Linked DNA regions of Homo sapiens: regions 1 and 3 are each linked to region 2. Evidence: promoter capture Hi-C in human tissues and cell types (Jung and others, 2019). All regions are on one chromosome and are shown on one strand. Each heading gives the region's core, a stretch centred on a gene start or on the middle of the fragment in contact. The rest is flanking DNA. Distances are from core to core; before and after follow the strand shown.

Region 1 (2,700 bases), core at 166-2,665, 140 kb after region 2:
CGATTCTCCTGCCTCAGCCTCCCGAGTAGCTGGGGTTACAGGCATGTGCCATCACACCTGGCTAATTTTTGTATTTTTAGTAGAGATGGGGTTTCACCATGTTGGTCAGGCTGGTGTCAAACCCCTGACCTCTTGATCTGCCCGCCTCGGCCTCCCAAAGTGCTGGGATTACAGCTGTGAGCCACCACGCCTGGCTATTCTGACAATTTTCACAATGGAAACAATTTAGGGCACTTGTGTACGGTTGGCTGGGCAACCCACCCGCCACAGGCCCAGCTGCCACTCTGGCCTGAGACATGCATCTTAAGAGTGATTTGGGTGGCTGGCACAGTGGCTCACGCCTGTAATCCCAGCACTCTGGGAGGCTGAGGCAGGCAGATCACCTGAGGTCAGGAGTTCGAGACCAGCCTGACCCATATGATGAAACCCCATCTCTACTAAAAAATACAAAAATTAGGCCAGACGCGGTGGCTCACGCCTGTAATCCCAGCACTTTCGGAGGCCAAGGCGGGTGGATCACCTGAGGTTGGGAGTTTGAGACCAGCCTGACCAACACGGAGAAACCCAGTCTCTACTAAAAATACAAAATTAGCCGGGCGTGGTGGCGCATGCCTGTAGTCCCAGCTACTCGGGAGGCTGAGGCAGGAGAATTGCTTGAACCCAGGAGGCGGACACTCCAGCCTGGGCAACAAGAGGGAAACTCTGTCTCAGGAAAAAAAAAAAAAAAAGAAATACAAAAATTAGCTGGGCACGGTGGCATGCACCTGTAATCCCAGCTACTCAGGAGGCTGAGACAGGAGAATCACTTGAACCCGGGAGGCAGAGGTTGCAGTGAGCCGAGATCGCGCCATTCCACTGCAGCCTGGGCAACAAGAGTGAAACTCCGTCTCAAAAAAAAAAAAAAAAAAAGTGATTTGGCTCAGAGATAAGTGCTTATTTGCCTTGGGATTAACCAGGATGAAACCTGTCAACCTGTGGTTGGGTTACGTTTCCTGTTCTCTAAGTCTACATTTCCTCATTTTTTAGCATCTGAAAGCAGGTGAATTTCCCCAGCCTGATTTTCCAGATGACTACAATTTGGGAGACATTTTCCTAGGAGTGGAGTATATCTTCCATCAGTGTAAAGAAAATGAAGATTACAATGACGTCCTGACTGTAAGCGGGGATGCTGAAATCATATAACCTGGCTCATGGAACATGGGCCTTGCAAAGGGGTCAAGATCACAACCCTGCATCCATGTGTGTCCGTGGGTACCGTAAGGGCTACTGGGGGAAGAACCTGTAAGCAGGGTGTGAGGAGCACCCAGGCTGGGTAGGGACTGCATGCCCCATGCCACAGTTGAAGGAGGGAGAGAACACGCTGTGAAAACACAGAAGCTCCCAGAGAAGCCTTCTCAGCTTTTATCTCTGGAGTAGAGCAGACTATGTTGAGCTAACACAGACCTGCTGAATCAGCTTCTTTCTGAGCTGCCAGAAGTACAGAAGTTGGAGCCTCCACCACCTTCCAGATCTGTTTCTCCTCAGTGTAATCCACCTATGGGTTCTTCCTGCCCACTGCACAGACAAAACCAATTCACTGCAATTGTGGTATTGCAGTAGAGAAAGAGTTTAACACAGAGCTAGCCAAGCAGAAAGGCTGGAGTTATTATTCAACTCAATCTCCCAGAGAACTCAGAGGCTACAGTTTCTACAGGCAATTTGGCAGGCAGGGGCTAGGGAATGCCTGCTGCTGATCGGCTGCAGACGGACCATGGGGTGTCAACGATTTTTGTCCCCTGAGTCCGCCTCTGCGTGGAGCCACGGGATCAGCTGAGTCATGAGTCTCAGGTCCAGGTGGAGTCTGTAGGTTGCCAGAACTCAAAAGTCTGAAAAACATCCCAAAAGACCATTCTTAGGTTGTACTATTGACGTTATCTTATTGGGGAGCAATTGGGGCGGTCACAAATCTCGTGACCTCTGGCTGCGTGAGTCCTGAGCAGTAGGGAATTACAGCAGGGCAAGCTGGGGAAGCAAGGCCTGCGGGCTGGTTCTCCTCAGGACACCTACATCTGAGCAGAATTCAGGCCCCTCCCATCATCCTAATCTTGTGGCCCTTCACAAGCTTCACAGAGGTGGCTTCGGTCTTGAGCAAGGAGGGGATTCGTTTTAGGGAGGGATGATTACTATTCTTGATTTAAAGTTAAACTCTAGATTAAATTCCTCCCGTGGTTAGCTTGGCCTGTGCCCGGGACTGAGTGGGGACAGCCACGCAAGTTAAACTCTAGATTAAATTCCTCCCGCGGTTAGCCTGACCCGTGCCCGGGACTCAGTGGGGACAGCCACGCAAGTTAAACTCTAGATTAAATTCCTCCCGCGGTTAGCCTGACCCGTGCCCGGGACTCAGTGGGGACAGCCACGCAAGTTAGACTCTAGATTAAATTCCTCCCGCGGTTAGCCTGACCCGTGCCCGGGACTCAGTGGAGTCAGCCACACAAGTTAAACTCTAGATTAAATTCCTCCCGCGGTTAGCCTGACCCGTGCCCGGGACTCAGTGGAGTCAGCCACGCAAGTTAAACTCTAGATTAAATTCCTCCCGCGGTTAGCCTGACCCGTGCCCGGGACTCAGTGGGGACAGCCACACAAGTTAGACTCTAGATTAAATTCCTCCCGCGGTTAGCCTGACCCGTGCCCGGGACTCAGTGGGGACAGCCACACAAGTTA
Region 2 (2,700 bases), core at 50-2,549:
AGCAGCACGCAGCCCGGGGTCTGTGTGATGGCTCCAGAGATGGCGTCGATCACCTGGGACACAGGCCCGGCCCCCACACCTCAGTCTCCCCGTTTGAAAGAAGGAAAAGGAGCTTGGAGGTGGCTGCACCCCGAGACACAAATGGGGGCTGAGGAGGCGGGCCAAGCCTTTGGGGGCTCTCCGACAAGCTGAGCTCCCACCGAAAGTGCCCGCACACAGCGGCCGCCCGGGAACCCTCACAGCAGCCACAGTCACTCCAGCCCAAGCACAGTCCCCACAAGGGGCTGCAGGTGGTGCCTCCAGGAGAGACTCACGGGCTCTGCTCCGACAGACAGATGCCAGAGACGTGGCCGGGGATCCAAGAAGGTGACCACAGGCGCAGGTCACAGAGGGGCCGGGACCCCCACCCCCGAGCAGGGGAGGGACAGATCACCAGCATGGGGGAGGGGCCTGAAGGGCCTAGAACCTTCCGGGTGGCAGGACTGCTGGGAGCAGGGGCTCAGCCCCAAATCTTGCCCTGTCCCAGGGCCTTGGTGCTGGCTGGAATCCCGGCATGACGAGGCCTCCCTGCACCCCTGCGGGTGACCCCTGTGGCCTGGTGCTGCGCTCTGGGAGGCCTTCCAGGTGGCCCTTAGGGCCTGCGTTTGTTCCCGGAGGAGCCTGGACCTCAGGGCTGTGGAAGGCGAGAGGCCGGACCTGGGGGCCTGCTGCCCCCTCTGTGCCTACTTCGTTTTGGGTCCAGTGAGGATGGTGGCTGCAGGGTGGGGGCTCAGCAAGCTAACTCCAGTGGAGATGGAGAGGCGGCAGTGGGGACCATGCTGGGCCACCTCGTGTGGCCTCACACAGCCCTTTCAGTCAGTGGCAGGAGCCCCATTTTCAGGGGGGAGCACCAAGGCCCTTTGAGGCCCAGAGATCTGCCCAACCCCCCACCGAAAGCACCCGAAAGGCCCCTGAAGCCACAGCCAAGCCTCAGCCCCCACAAGCACCAGTCGTGTTCCACCCACCCCTGGGTCAGGCACTCCCCAGGGCCCTGAGCCACGGGATGTCCTTGGGGCCCACGGGCAGCGGCTCTGCCCATCCTGGGAAGACGACCCGGGACACCAAGCCCACCACCTCCTCCATGGCCTGGGCCTTAGCCACTCAAGCTGCCCCATCAGCCCTAGATGCTTGACCAGCTCCTCGGGCCTCACCTCCTGGTTCTTCCCCTCCGAAAAGTTGGGGACGCATTCCACCAGCTGGGACATGGCCAGCACCTTGATCCAGATGCTCCTCTCTGGGCAGATGGAAGGACAGGGCCAGTGCTCCGCAGCCGCCGCCAGGGCCTTTATACGCTCACCGGCAGCACCTCCCCACCGGCTTCTCATTAACCAGCAAGGCACAAGGAGCAGTGGGGCCAAGGTCCCTGTGCAGCCGCGGAGTGGGGTGCTGCAGAGCCACCCCGGGTGCTGTTGACCCAGAGGGGATGGCTCCACTCAGCCAGAGTGTGGGTTCCCGGAAAAGAAGCACATGCCAGGGTGAAGGGGCATGTGCCGAGGACCCCCAGGAGCATCAGGCCAGCCTGGCTGGAATCCTGTCGTGACGAGGCCTCCCTGTGCCACTGCGGGTGACCCTCGTGACCCTGTGCTGCCTTCTGGGAGGCCTTCCAGGCAGCCCGTGGGGCCTGCGTTTGTTCCTGGAGGAGCCTGGACCCCTGGGGCTGTGGAGGGCGAGAGGCCAGCATGAGGCCCTGGCTCGCAGCACCCAACTGAGGTCAGCTCAGCTCAGACAGGAGAGTGCAGGGGAGCACGCGTGTGAGAGTGAGTGAGGATACACGTGAGGGCAGGGCAGGGGAACACGTGAGAGTGCAGATACACGTGAGCACAAGGCAGGGGAGCACATGTGTGAGAGCGTGGATACATGTGAGCACAGGACAGGGGAACACGTGTGAGAGTGAGCGAGGATACATGTGAGTGTGGGGTAGGGGAGCACACGTGTGAGAGTGCAGGTACACGTGAGCATGGGGCAGGGGAAGCAAGCATGTGAGAGTGAGTGCAGATACATGTGAGCGCAGGGCAGGGGAACACGCGTGTGAGAGTGCAGATACACACGAGACGGGCATGTGCGATATGGGGGAAGGCAGCTGAGACCCCAGCTCTCCCCAGCTGCTGCTCCCCTGACTACAGGCTCCCCACGAAGTCAGCGGCACCAGGGCCGTGCTCAGAAGGGAGAACTCCTGTCTCCACGTTCAGCCGCTGCCCACTTGCAGTGCTTTTATCATTTTCTCTTTTTTTTTTTTTTGAGACAAAGTCTCACTCTGTCAGCCAGGCTGGAGTGCAGCGGCACAATCATGGCTTCCTGCAGCCTTGGTCCCCAGGCTCAAGAGGTCCTTTCACCTTAGCCTCCTGAGCATCTGGGCCACAGGCACACACCACTACACTGGCTAACTTTTCCATTTTTGGTAGACATGGTGATATGGTTTGGCTGTGTCCCCACCTAAATCTCATCTTGAATTGTAGAGCCCATAGTTCCCACGTCATGGGAGGGACCCGGTGGGAGGTCACTGAATCACGGGGGCGGCTTTTTCCGGTGCTGTTTTTGTGATAGTGAATGGTCTCACGAGATCCGATGGTTTTATAAAGGGCAGTTCCCCTGCACACACCCTCTTGTAAGACGTGACTTTGCTCCTCTTTCACCTTCCACCATGATTGTGGAACTGTTGAG
Region 3 (2,700 bases), core at 144-2,643, 240 kb after region 2:
TGGCTTTGCTGCCCTTTCAGAGAAGGCGGGTTGTCTGTCGGTCCTGCTGGTTGGAGGGTCCCCACCTCTGTGAGGTGGAAATAAGAGGGGCTCTGAGTCCAACAGCAGCAGCTGGAGGCAGAGCCGAGTGCGGCAAACAAGAGCTACTTTAAAATTTCATTTAAAATAACCAAGTGCCTGATATTAACCCTCATTAGGAAAACATAGTGTTAACAATATTAGTTTGTATCTTTTCAGATTTTTAGATATTTTAGTCTCAAAGGTATTTAAAATGAAAACTGTCAAAACATAAGTTTAAAATGTCGAGCCTGCAGGGAGCTGCGTCCTCAGTAGCTGGTTCAGCTCGAGCAAAGGCTTTTCACATTGCATTCGTGCATCTCAGGCACGTGGGAGGCAGAGGGGCCTGCGCTTCTCTAAAAGTTCCTTCCAGGATGGCCGTGGCCTCGGGGTCATCCCTTCAGAACACAGATTGGAGTTAGAAGCTTGGGCATCGCAGGCACCACCTCAGCCAATTCAGAAGTCTCATTTATTATTATTATTATTTTTTTACATTTTTCTCTTTAGAAAACAACCAGCTTTTGATTTTTGTGGCCATTCTCATTTGCTGTCTTCTGTCTTGCTGATTTTTGCCCTTGTTCGTGTGATTCCTTGTTCCTATGGTTTTGTTTTTGTTTTTGTTTTTTTTGAGATGGAGTCTCGCTGTGTCCCCAGGCTGGAGTGTAGTGGCGTGATCTCAGTTCACTGCAACCTCCGCCTCCTGGGTTCAAGTGATTCTCCTGCCTCAGCCTCCCAAGTAGCTGGGATTACAGGTGAGCACCACCACACCTGGCTAATTTTTTATGTTTTTGGTAGAGATGGGGTTTCACCATGTTAGCCAGCCTGGTCTCGAACTCCTGACCTCAAGTGATCTGCCTGCCTCGGCCTCCCATAGTGCTGGGATCGCAGGCGTGAGCCACCATGCCCGGCCAGCTCCTATGGTTTCTCACTGCCTTCGTTGGGTTGGACGCTTTTGGACATGTTTGCTGCCTTTCACAGGATGTGGGGTTCAGGTCGTGCCTCCTCGTGGTGCCCCAGCCTTTCCACCTGTGGTGCTCGTGTTGACATCTGGGTCCCACAAGCTTATAATTCTTTGGCCCAGGGGGCGTTTTCCAGGGTGGAAGACATTGGTCCCACGGGATGTTTTAAACTCTGCCTATGACTGTGCCCACACTTTGTCCTCTCCTTTTCTTGGTTCATTTCTGTCATTCTCGTTTATCCCGTTCTATTTTTTATATAAATTTCTGATGCTGAAGGATTAGCCTGGTGTTTTTCCCCTCGTGTATCTTTTCTTGTCCTTTTATTTTAAGTCTTTTTTAATACTCTGTTTTAGTTGTGCCTTGTATGGATACCATATTCATGACTGTTTTTTAAAAGCCTGTCTGTGAGTATCTTCTTTTAGTCATTTAGCCAAGTTTTATTTGCCGCACCTCCTGGCGTTGGGCCCTTGCTCGGGGGTGGATTTTCCTTGGCCAGCTGTGAAGTCCTCACTGCGGTGTTGCCTGCTGCCGGGCTCAGGGCGGCGTCATCTCCCCACGGGCCTCTAAGCCCTGTTGCCCCCGCACTCTGTGTGTCCACAGGGGGAGTGCGGGGGAACCTCCAGGGCCAGGAGGGCCTGGAGTCTCTTCAGGTCCCTTCCTCCACCAGTGAAGTGGTGCTGGAGACATGACTCGAGATCCTGTTTCTTTTCCTTTGACGCCCTCGTTTTCCTGCATCTCCTCAGGATTTTTCAGGGTGTTTTCAGGAACGTCTCTGACGTCCTGCATCGCTCTCAGCATCTTTGCCCTGGCGGTGCTGTTGCATCTGGGCGTCCGTTGTCGCTGTTTCTCCGATGCTTTCTCTGCTTGTCCTCTGCTGTCCGGGGGCAGCCTCATGGTCGGGCCCCTCCCTGTAGACTCTGCTGCCCCATTTCCAGTGTCTTCGCGCCCAGCCAGCCGGCGCTGGGCCACACCCCGCCGGGGGAGACCACCTGGTGTTTCATCACCTCGAGCCCTTGGACTTCAGCCAGTCACTTCGTTTGTCAGGCCTCCGGGCAGATAAAGGGGTGTGTGGCCTGCATTCTGTTGAACGGCCCGGTGAGGCCGGGGCCCTGTGGCTAGCGCCCCCGTGTCAGGTGCCTGTGTCGTGCCCTGGGCCTGAGCACGTGGGTCTGAGCACTGCAGGGCTTCTTCCCAAGGCTGTGGTGGCCCGTCTGCTGCCTTGCCTCTGGTTCATCTCCTGCCACAAAGCCTGGCCCACCAGGGAGTGTCGTGACAGGTGGATGTGGGCCCTGGGTGTCCATAGCCTGGCTGGGCTCCCTGCAGGCCCCAGGATTGAAGCTGAGGCTTACCATGGGCCTTGCAGTGGCAGGCGCCTGGCATGCCGGGAGTGGATCTCATGGAGCCCTTTCGCAGGCTCGGGCCAACTTTGTCACTGGGAAATTCTCGTTGTTTCTCTGGGGTCCTCTTTGTTTGCTTTCCTTTCGACATGGTTAACCCTGCCCTAGTTTCTCACTCTGGTTTGTTTTCTTTCCTTTCACCCTGGCTCTGCGGTTGTGTGACTCTGCGCCAGCTACCGGCCCTGACCACTCTCCCGGCAGGGCCTAGGCTCTGACGGTGGCGTGAACCCGGCCCTGGTGTGCAGCGGCCCTGCCTCGCCGTGTTGCGTGACGCCCCCTTCGCTGTG

Evidence for each region. Contacts are between HindIII fragments. The study calls those that stand out against the background at their distance.
Region 1: a contact is called between a fragment that was not itself captured here and the fragment with the promoter of FTCD in region 2, in 1 of the 25 tissues and cell types used here (lymphoblastoid cells).
Region 3: a fragment that was not itself captured here is called in contact with the fragment with the promoter of FTCD in region 2 in 2 of the 25 tissues and cell types used here (mesenchymal stem cells and mesendoderm cells).

What each region holds. Positions count from the first base shown.
Region 1 is chr21:46,290,308-46,293,007 of GRCh38, forward strand. It overlaps YBEY (ybeY metalloendoribonuclease), which reads left to right. Exons shown (of 5, transcript NM_001314025.2): 3 at 1,027-1,155. Among named protein-coding and RNA genes, the nearest start is that of YBEY, 5.3 kb to the left of the region's middle. RefSeq lists an enhancer at 1-86. The HindIII fragment of the contact is 7,396 bases long and covers 1-2,700 here.
Region 2 is chr21:46,154,280-46,156,979 of GRCh38, forward strand. It overlaps FTCD (formimidoyltransferase cyclodeaminase), which reads right to left and starts at 1,300. Exons shown (of 14, transcript NM_206965.2): 1 at 1,191-1,300; 2 at 1-53. The coding sequence starts at 1,244. RefSeq lists enhancers at 1-369, 370-1,073. The HindIII fragment of the contact is 26,017 bases long and covers 1-2,700 here.
Region 3 is chr21:46,391,554-46,394,253 of GRCh38, forward strand. All of the region lies in intron 21 of PCNT (pericentrin), which reads left to right. Among named protein-coding and RNA genes, the nearest start is that of DIP2A, 66 kb to the right of the region's middle. The HindIII fragment of the contact is 4,353 bases long and covers 1-2,700 here.